2 separate regions of the Homo sapiens genome follow, and region 2 is linked to region 1. Evidence: promoter capture Hi-C in 16 types of primary human blood cells and fetal thymus (Javierre and others, 2016). All regions are on one chromosome and are shown on one strand. Each heading gives the region's core, a stretch centred on a gene start or on the middle of the fragment in contact. The rest is flanking DNA. Distances are from core to core; before and after follow the strand shown.

Region 1 (5,289 bases), core at 1,797-4,296:
ACTCCACTGAGCATGTGCAAAGTTTTCATTGACCTCCCACAACCACAGTGAATGGTATGAAGGGTCTCCTCCATTTCTCAGATGGGGACACTGAGGGTTAGTCACAGGGACCTATGACTTGTCCAGGGTGACAGGAGGAGGTGGAGGGGATGGTGTCAACATCTGACTCCTGATCCGATGACCCTAGAGCCGAAAGAGTTACTGGCTGCCCCCCTCCCATGGTGTCCCCAACCTGAGCAGAGTGAAGAGGTGACTGGGTGGTTCAGACCCAGGTTCTTGAGGCCTAGCCTGCTAATCTGGCCACCACCCGTTCTCCCTCCCATTTGTGCCAGAGCTTAGCGGGACCAGTATCTCGTTTCCTCTGTGGCTGAGCCGGCTGAGCTGATAATGGGGATCAGATTGATGGAAGCCACACCCGCCCTGCCCCAGCCTGCAGTAAGTGCACAGCCTGGGATGGTGGCTACATGGGCATCAAAGGGACTTCGGCGACTGGCCCCAGACAGAGATGGGGGGGTGGCAAAGTCAGGGAGGAGGAGGGCAGATAAAAGATGGAGGGTTAGGGAAGCTTCCCATTCTCTCCAGTGCTTCTTCTAAGTCTCCCCCGACTTTTGGTTTCTCTCTCCCTCTTTCTTCCTCTGTTTCCCTCTCTTCTCCACTGTCCTGCCCTCTCTCTGAACCGTTCTGTGTCCCTGGCCTCATCACTCTCTCTTCCTCTTTTCCACCATCGCACATACATCTGACGTATGGGTTTTGCAGTGAACACACCTGAGGCCACTTTTTTCTTAAAACCTCCTGTGTCTGACCCCCACGGCCCCCAGCTGCGGCCCCTGGCCCCAGTCACAGTGACAGATGCCTGGATACCGGCGACAATAGGGCATTGAGTGGCTATGCATGGTGAGGCTGGGCTACCACGTGGTGCTGACTGAGCCTCCTACTTCTGGGCCCTTCTTCAATGCAGGGTCCTCCTGGTCTTAATTTGTCACCTCTCTTCCTCCCAGCCTGTCCCCATGATACATCTCTGCCCCAGGGCTCGCTCACTGGAGAACCTAGGTCCTCAAGGCCCTTGTGTGACCTCTGACCACACCCTCTTTCCCTTTGTGCATTAGTTTCCTTTTTCAAATGAGAGAACCGATCAGAGGACGCTTAGGAGATGCTGGACTGTTGCGGGAGTTCTGAGGTCCTCAGGAGGCCACACTCCAGTTCCCAGACCTGGGTGAACAGCACGAGGCCCAGAGAGGGAAAGGAACGGCCTGAGGTCACACAGCAGGTGAGCCAGGCCTCCGGGACCTCATTTCTCAGAGCCAGGTGGGCGGGTCCCAGGGTCCAGGAGGGGAGAGGCTTAGGCATGGAGGGAGCGCCAATCATGCCCCCACCCCCAGTGCTAGCCACGACTCGAAAAAGGGGCCCGGAAAGAGACACAATGCACAGAGACACACACGCAGAGACGGAGAGATAGGAAGAGTGGAAGAGGGAGGCCCAGGCGCCGGGACCAGACAAAGGACGCGCGGCGGCGCGGGGAGCGGAGTCGCGCGGCAGGGGCGGGGGTGGAGCCGGGGTGGGGCTATAACTGGCCAGCCCCGCCCCCGGGATACGCCCGGGCTGCCGAGTGGGAATCCGAGGGCTCGGGCGAGGCCGGGCCCCCGGGGCCCTGGGGGCGGGGCCTAGATGGGCGTGCCCGGGCGTGGCCAGGCAGGGCGTGGCAGGGCGGGAGGGGCTGCGCGCTCGGGAGCTGACCAGCTCCGTGGCTGCTGAAAGCACCGAGCGCGGGGCTAGCGGTGCGGGCGAGCAGGCGGGCGGGCCGCGCTCAAGGTCACCTCGCGGCCCAGAGCCTTGGCGAGGTGGGGAGCCTGGACCTGGCCTAAGGGGGCTGTCTCGGCCTCCCACCCCATCTCCCGGGGGGCGGAGACCCGGGAGCCCAGAGGTGCCCCCCCAACCCGCGGGCCCTCCTCTCCCCTCCCCCTCCCCGCAGCCCGAGGCGCCCGCGCGAGGCTGCGGCCCGCGAAGAAGCGCCGAGAAACAAAGGGACGCGGCAGCAGCGGCGGCGGGCCCGCGGGGCCTCCGGGCGCGCCCCCTCCTCTCCCCTCCCCGCTTGCCGCAAGGTCGACGGGCTCGAGGACGAGACGCCCGCCTCCCGGGTGCGGCCGAGGCCCGGGGCGCGCGATCCGACGCCACCCGCTTTCCCAGGGCTCTCGGGGACGCTTTGTCGCTTTGGCTTGGCCCAGCACCAGTGATCGGGCCCTGCGTTTGCCTGGGCGGCCTGCGGGGTCTGGGCCTGGATGGAGGAAGCATCCTTAGCCGCCGCGGCCCCTCCCCCATCAGGCCTGCTGGAGAGGGGGCAATCCCGCCTCCAGGGCGGCGTCGGACGCCTCCCGAATCGCAGTCAGTCTCCCTAAGGCCCTCTCAGACCAAGCTCTAAGCGCCCTCAGCACTCTGGGCGCGGCCCTGCCCACTCTCAGGCCCCGAGGCTTGGTCCTACCCCCCCAACCCGGGCCTAGCTAGGCCTGGTCCTACCCCCCCCGCCGCACCCGCCCAATCTCCGCGGAGCCTGGGCCCAACTCCTCCCCGTCCCGATTCCCTTTCGGCGACAGGGGAATACCTACAGTGACCATTCTTGTGTGCCCGGCGGGCGCGGTCCGTGTTGAGGGGGGCTCCGGGGGTGGTGCACTCCTAGGGGGGCGCCCGATGCTCACGCTGGGGTCCCGCCCGGGCGGCCTCTGGTGCGGCCGCTGCAGATGTGGCGATGAAGGCGGCGGCTCCCTCGAGGGCCAGGGACGGGCCCGAACCCGGGGATGCGCGCGCGGATGGCCGGGCCCCGGGGTGGCCTGCGGGCGGCAGGGGATGGAAAGAGGGAGCGGGCGCGGGGTTGAGGACGCCCCCTGCGCGGCCCCGCGGGGCCCGGGGAGGTTGCGCTTCCCGACAGAGATCGCGGCGCTCTGCCTTTCGCCGCCGCCCCTCGGTCGGTCCTGTCCGGTCCCGTGTGTTCAAGTCCTCTCCCCTCGCCCACCCTCCCTCCCTCCCTCCGGCCCGCGCTGCGCGCTCCGCGCTCTGGACCGCGCCGCCGCCGCCCCCAGCCCTTTATAGCAGCAGCTGCCAGCGCCGGCGTCGCTCATTGGCTGCGGCGACCGAGCTCCGCCTCCTCGCGGCTCCCGACGGCGCGGCAGGTGGAAGTGAGCGCGCACTGGTCGGGACTCTGAATCCCCCAAAAGCGCATCCTAGGTGCTCGGGTTGCCAGATTTGGGCCCTCCTTCCCTCGAGGCCCTTGCTTCCTACCCTGGCACCCCTTCTTGGGCTGGCTTTCGGGCCAGGAGACGGGCTCCCCTCCTCCGTCCAGCTCCTAGAGCTGGAGGAGCCAACAGAGCGAGGAGGTATTAGTGGCCTGAATATGCGACCTTCCAGAGGTGTTGTCCACTGAGGGAACTGGACAGGGGATCAGGAACCAATATTTTAGTAGGCAGAGGCCTGGGTCCCCAGATTTGGAGGCACCAGTGTAGACCACCTCAAGACCACGGGGGAGGGTGGCTACTGTGGCCCTAGTCTTCTGCAGAAGGAGACTGGGACGCTGTTGGTTTTGAGTGAGCTGGATCCTTCTAGGGTTCAAAAGGTAAGGACTGGCACTCCCCAGTGCAAGGAAACTCCGCACTGCTCCGAAGGGGGTGAAAAGGTTTGGGGCTCAGTGTTCTGGACAATCATCGCTGGAGCCATGCAGCTCTGGGAAACCACGGATCCTTCTTGGACCCCACAGAACTGGGGTGGGTGGATCTGCCACATAAATGTCCTGGCTTTCTAGGCTCGTGATTGGTCCTCCTGACTGTGGAGTCATGCTCGCTCTCTGCTAGGGGGAACCTGGCCTCTCTCTAAGGCGTTGGGGGTGGCGCAGCCTCCTTTGGTGCGCGGGCGCCGGTGCATGTTTACGTCGGGGCGCGGGAACTAGCACACACTGGGGCGGGGTCGCCAGGGCGTGAGGCTTCAGCACCACAGACAGCAATCCGACAGTCCGGTCGAGGGCGCTGCCGGCGAGGTAGCCCAGACCCCCTAACTGGAGAGCGGCAGTCCCCACCCAATCCTCGTTCCTGCACGCCCTTTAGGCTCCAGACTGTCAGAGAGCGCCACCAGCGAGGAGAGCCTAATTTGCCCAATCAGGGGCGGCCCTTGAGATAACCAGTTACTGGAAGATGCCCTAGAGATCGAGCCAATGGGAGTGCGCGCACCAGGGGATGCTGCCACGCCTGGAAAGGGCAGGCCAATCGCAGTGGCCCGCGCAATAGGGGCGGTGGCGGTGCAGATCCCCGGGTGGCCCCTCTTGGGCTCGCCGGGGCGACCTGGCTGCGGGCGCTAGGGGCCCCAAGCGATGGTCTGTTCCCCACCCCGTGTTCCTCCCGGTTTCCGTCATCGGAAACTGAGCTAGGAGGGGGGCTGCTCCTGGGCGCGCGGACCCCGCTGCGGTTCCCATGGAAACCTGCCGGCTCCGGCAGTGCGGGGAGAGTGGAGGGGACCTGCCTCGCGGGGGGAGGGAGCTCGCGGGGGCGGCCCCAGCGGCCGGACTCGCTCATCCTTGCCGATTCTTCTGTCCCCGGCTGGGGTAGCCCCCCGGTCCGCAGCAGGAACTGAGGCATAGCTGGGGCCCCGCCTCATCCCCCGAACTGGTGAGGAACCGGCGGGGCCAATCTGCGCGTGGCGCCACAGGGCTCCCCCGGGCACGTGCCTGAGCTCGCGGCTGCGGTCCCCAGGGTCACGTGGCTGCGGCCACCAGGGCCTACGCGCCTCGCACGCCACCTAGCGGCCGCGCCTCGCTCCCCGCCCCTCTCTCTAGCGGCCCGCAGGAGGCGGCGGCCTCAGCATCCTCCTCCGGGAAATGGGGCCAGGGCAGCCGCCGCCAACTCCCCTTCCCCCCGCGGCTTCCTGTTTTAGGAACACGCCGAGCTAGTTCTACCTCGGGGTTTTGGCACTGGTTGTTCCTCTGGCCTGAGAATTTCCTCCCCCAGCTTTCTTCTGGGATAGATCTTTGTCATTCTGGTCTATGCGCAAATGCCACCTCCTCAGAGGCCCTCCCTGACCACCGACCTAAACAGCATCCCCGGAAAACAACGCATCACTCTCTCTTTTGCATGGCGCTTGTCGCTAGCTGCAAATGTTTCTCATTTTAGGGGTTTACTGAACACCTCCCCATCTCATCCCGGAGCTCACTGAGGGTGGGAGATGGGTGCCCCATAAAACAGGAGGAAGTGGAAATTAGGGTCCTGAGTTCCGGGAGATGCCCAGAGACCCCAGACCCCCAAGCCTCACCCCATC
Region 2 (4,614 bases), core at 1,275-3,774, 110 kb before region 1:
ATTTAGGAGACATCTGCCTCTCTGGCCCTCTGAGATATCCCGATGGGCACAAATGGAAGGTGCGCACTTGCCCCTACTATTGCCCTTTTAAGGGCCAAAGCTTGACCCCATTGGCCATTGCCTGGCTAATGAGAACCCCTGGTTCTCAGAATTTTAACCAAAAGGAGTTGGCTCCAACCAATGGGAGCCTTCCCCTCACTTCTTAGAATCCTCCTGCAAGAGGGCAACTCCAGCCAGTGTTCAGCGACTGAACAGCCAATAGGAGCCCTTGGTTTCCAGAATTTCTAGAGTGGGTGGGCATGATTCCAGTCAATGGGGGACCGCCCGTGTCTAAGCATGTGCAAAGGAGAGGAGGGAGATGAGGTCATTGTTTGTCATTGAGTCTTCTCTCAGAATCAGCGAGCCCAGCTGTAGGGTGGGGGGCAGGCTCCCCCATGGCAGGGTCCTTGGGGTACCCCTTTTCCTCTCAGCCCCTCCCTGTGTGCGGCCTCTCCACCTCTCACCCACTCTCTCCTAATCCCCTACTTAAGTAGGGCTTGCCCCACTTCAGAGGTTTTGGGGTTCAGGGTGCTGTGTCTCCCCTTGCCTGTGCCCAGGTCATCCCAAACCCTTCTGTTATTTATTAGGGCTGTGGGAAGGGTTTTTCTTCTTTTTCTTGGAACCTGCCCCTGTTCTTCACACTGCCCCCCATGCCTCAGCCTCATACAGATGTGCCATCATGGGGGGCATGGGTGGAGCAGAGGGGCTCCCTCACCCCGGGCAGGCAAAGGCAGTGGGTAGAGGAGGCACTGCCCCCCTTTCCTGCCCCCTCCTCATCTTTAATAAAGACCTGGCTTCTCATCTTTAATAAAGACCTGTTTGTAACAGAAGTTTGGCCATCTGCCTTCCTCCCCCGGGTGGTGGGGGGGTGCGGAGGACATTCATCGTGGGTCTAGATGTCTGTGGAGCTGGGTGTGGGTGTGTTGCCGCAGTGTATCTAAGGACAATTGTGGAAAGGCAGCCCGGTTTCATGGAGCTTCAGACTTGGGCTGAAATCCTGGCTCAGCATTCTGGGCTCTGTGGCCTCAGAAAAGTTCATTCACCTCTCTGTGCCCTTGTTTCTTCATCTATCAAAGGCAAACAGTCACTCAAGCTACCAAGGCACACAAACCCACATCAGGAGCCGTACATGCCCTGTGTGTCTCAGGCCAGGGCACAGAGGGCACAAGGAATGGGGTGAGGATACTTGGGGGTCCTGAGAGGGATGGGGGATGCTGAGGGGCACTAAGAACCTCCAAGTGGAACACCTGGCTGTGTGGATGAGAACAGGGGTGCTGAGTATGAGATTACACCAAGACCCAACCCCCCTGAGAACTCAGCAGATACTGGGGATGTTCAAAGGGTCAGGGAGAGGGAGCCACAGGACCCCTCCCTCAATTGTGGCTCTGAGGGCTTTCAGACAGGGCATTTGGGACCCAGAGTCACTCAGGAACCAGGAAAAGGGAGTCTGTTTCCCTTCTCTCCTTAATTAATTCACTCATTCATTAAGCAAACACTGTAGAACCCCTACTGTGTGCTAGATGGTCTTAGTCTGTTCCAGCTGCCGTGACAAAATACCATGGACAGGATGGCTTATTTATTAAATTATTAAAAAATAAATTTCTCTACTACTATTAAATTCCTCTACTAATTATTAAAAAATAAATTTCTTGGCTGGGCATCGTGGCTCACGCCTGTAATCCCAGCACTTTGGGAGGCCGACAAGGGTGGATCACGAGGTCAGGAGATTGAGACCATCCTGGCTCACAGGGTGAAACCTCGTCTCTACTAAAAATACAAAAAATTAGCTGGGTGTGGTGGCGGGCGCCTGTAGTCCCAGCTACTCAGGAGACTGAGGCAGGGGAATGGTATGAACCCGGGAGGTGGAGCTTGCAGTGAGCCGAGATCGTGCCACTGCACTCCAGCCTGGGGGACATAGCAAGACTCTGTCTCAAAAAAAAAATAATAATAATAATAACAATAAATTTCTGATTTATTTATTTATTTATTTTGAGACGGAGTCTCGCTCTGTTACCTGGGCTGGAGTGCAGTGGTGCGACCTCGGCTCACCGCAACCTCCACCTTCCAGGTTCAAGCGATTCTCCTGCCTCACTCAGCCTCCTGAGTAGCTGGGACTACAGGTGCGCACCACCACGCCCAGCTAATTTTTTGTATTTTTAGTAGAGACGGGGTTTCACCGTGTTAGCCAGGATGGTCTCGATCTCCTGACCTTGTGATCTGCCTGCCTCAGCCTCCCAAAGTGCTGGGATTACAGGCATGAGCCACTGCGCCTGCCTTATTTTTATTGTGTGTGTGTGTCTTTTTTTGTTAAGATGGAGTTTTGCTCTGTCGCCAGGCTGGAGTGCAATGGCACGATCTCGGCTCACTGCAACCTCTGCCTCCTGGGTTCAAGCGATTCTCCTGCCTCAGCCTCCCAAGTAGCTGGGATTACAGGCACCCACCACCACGCCCGGCAAATTTTTGTATTTTCAGTAGAGATGGGGTTTCACCGTATTGGCCAGGGTGGTCTCGAACTCCTGACCTTGTGATCTGCCTGCCTCAGCCTCCCAAAGTGCTGGGATTATAGGCATGAGCCGCTATACCTGGCCTATTTTTTTAATAGAGACAGGGTTGTGCCATGTTCCTCGGGCTGGTCTTGAACTCCTGGGCTCAAGTGGTTCACCCACCCCAGCCTCCCAAAGTGCTGGGATTACAGACATGAGCTACCACCCCTGGCCTAACAGAAGTTTATTGCTCACAGTTTTGAAGGCTGGGAAGTCCAAGATCAAGGCCCCAGCAGATTCGGTGGCCAGTGAGGGCCTGCTTCCTCATAGACTCACTCTAGTCTCACATGGCAGAAGGTGGAGAAGCTCTCTGGGGCCTCTTTTATAAGAGCACTAATCCCATTCATGAGGACTCCACCCTTATGACCTAATCACCTTTAAAAGGCCCCCACCTCCTATCACTGTGGGTTAGGATTTCAACATATGAACCGGGGGAAGGGGCACAAACATTCAGACCAAAGCACAGGTGCTGTTTAGTTAGGCACAGGGTGGGGGTTGTGGCAGGGGGAGGTTACAGCAGTAAACAACAGACACAAACCTCTGCTGTCACGGATGTGAGCGTTCTAATATGTAAGACAACAAACAAGGTAAATGGGGCCTGGTCTCCACACCTGTAATCCCAATACTTTGGGAGGCCAAGGCCAGAGGATTGCTTGAGCTTAGGAGTTGGAGAATGACCTGGGCAACATAGTGAGACCCCCGTCTGTTCAAATATATATATATATATATATTTTAAAATTAGCTGGGCATGTTGGTGCGTACCTGTAGTCCCGGCTATGCAGGAGGCTGAGATGGGAGTCCCTTGAGCCCAGGAAGTCGAGACTGTCGTGAGCTGTGATGATGCCACTGCACTGTAGCCTGGGTGACAGAGCAAGACCATGTCTCTGGATAAATAAATACACAAATTAATAAATATAAAAATAAACGAGCTATATACAGATTCACAATTCCAAATTTTTATAGAAGTCTGAAAACCAGGCCAGGCGCAGTTGCTCACACCTGTAATCCCAGCATTTTGGGATGCTGAAGTGGGCGGATCACCTGAGGTCGGGAATTCAAGACCAGCCTGGCCAACATGGTGAAACCCTGTCTCTACTAAAAATACAAAAATTAGCTAGGTGTGGTGACACACGTCTGTAATCCCAGCTACTAGGGAGGCTGAAGCAGGAGAATCGCTTGAACCCGGGAGTTAGAGGTTGCAGTGAGCTGAGATCACACCACCGCACTCCAGCCTGGGTGACAGAGTGAGACTCTGTCTCAAAAAAGAAAAAGAAGTCTGAAAACCAAAATCCTTTCATAACTCATTTATGGCAAAACCTAACCTGAACTGACCTGAGATTATATATAGCTTTTATTTATTTCACTTGATGTGAATATTCTTGTGTTTTGCTGAAGATAAAGTGACTTGAGGATTTTACTCCTGGTCCCACCAGGGGTATGAAATACATAGTATTTATACCCTATTACTTTTTTAAAATCTGAAAAATCCTGAATTTCCAACTCCAGGATCATGGATTTAGCTAAGGGATCTCTGATATGTTAGATATCGATATGTGATAAGGAGAACACTCAAGCTAAGGAAGCCGATGTGACAAGTGTGGGATAGGGACATGGTTTGCAATTTTTTTAAGAGAGAGGGAGGGTCTCGCTCTGTTTGTTGCTTAGGCTGAGCGACGAGTGGAATGCAGTGGCATGATCATAGCTCACTACAGCCTTAAACTTCTGGGATCCAGCGATCCAGTGATCCTCCCAAGTAGCTGGGACTACAGGCACACACCACCATGCCTGCTAATTTTTTAAATTTTTAGTAAAGACAATGTCTTACTATATTCCCCAGGCTGGTCTTCAACTTCAGGGCTCAAGCGATCTTCCCACTTCGGCCTCCCAAAATGCTGGGATTAAAGGGGTGAGCTGCCATGCCTGGGCTATGGTTTGCAATTTTTAAAAAAGTGATCAAGGAAGTTTTCTCTGAGATGACACTGGGAGGGAGGGAGCCATGCAAATATGTGGTGGGGAGACCTCTAGGCAAAGG

Evidence for each region. Contacts are between HindIII fragments. The CHiCAGO score rates a contact against its expected background, and 5 or more counts as called.
Region 2: a fragment that was not itself captured here is called in contact with the fragment with the promoter of ELAVL3 in region 1 in 1 of 17 cell types (erythroblasts); the score reaches 6.5 in erythroblasts.

What each region holds. Positions count from the first base shown.
Region 1 is chr19:11,478,000-11,483,288 of GRCh38, forward strand. ELAVL3 (ELAV like RNA binding protein 3) reads right to left here and starts at 3,047. Exons shown (of 7, transcript NM_001420.4): 1 at 2,601-3,047. The coding sequence starts at 2,609. RefSeq lists silencers at 1,565-1,759, 4,134-4,383, 4,414-4,853. The HindIII fragment of the contact is 20,383 bases long and covers 564-5,289 here.
Region 2 is chr19:11,364,830-11,369,443 of GRCh38, forward strand. It overlaps PLPPR2 (phospholipid phosphatase related 2), which reads left to right. Exons shown (of 10, transcript NM_001393892.1): 10 at 1-869. Among named protein-coding and RNA genes, the nearest start is that of SWSAP1, 7.5 kb to the right of the region's middle. The HindIII fragment of the contact is 4,852 bases long and covers 99-4,614 here.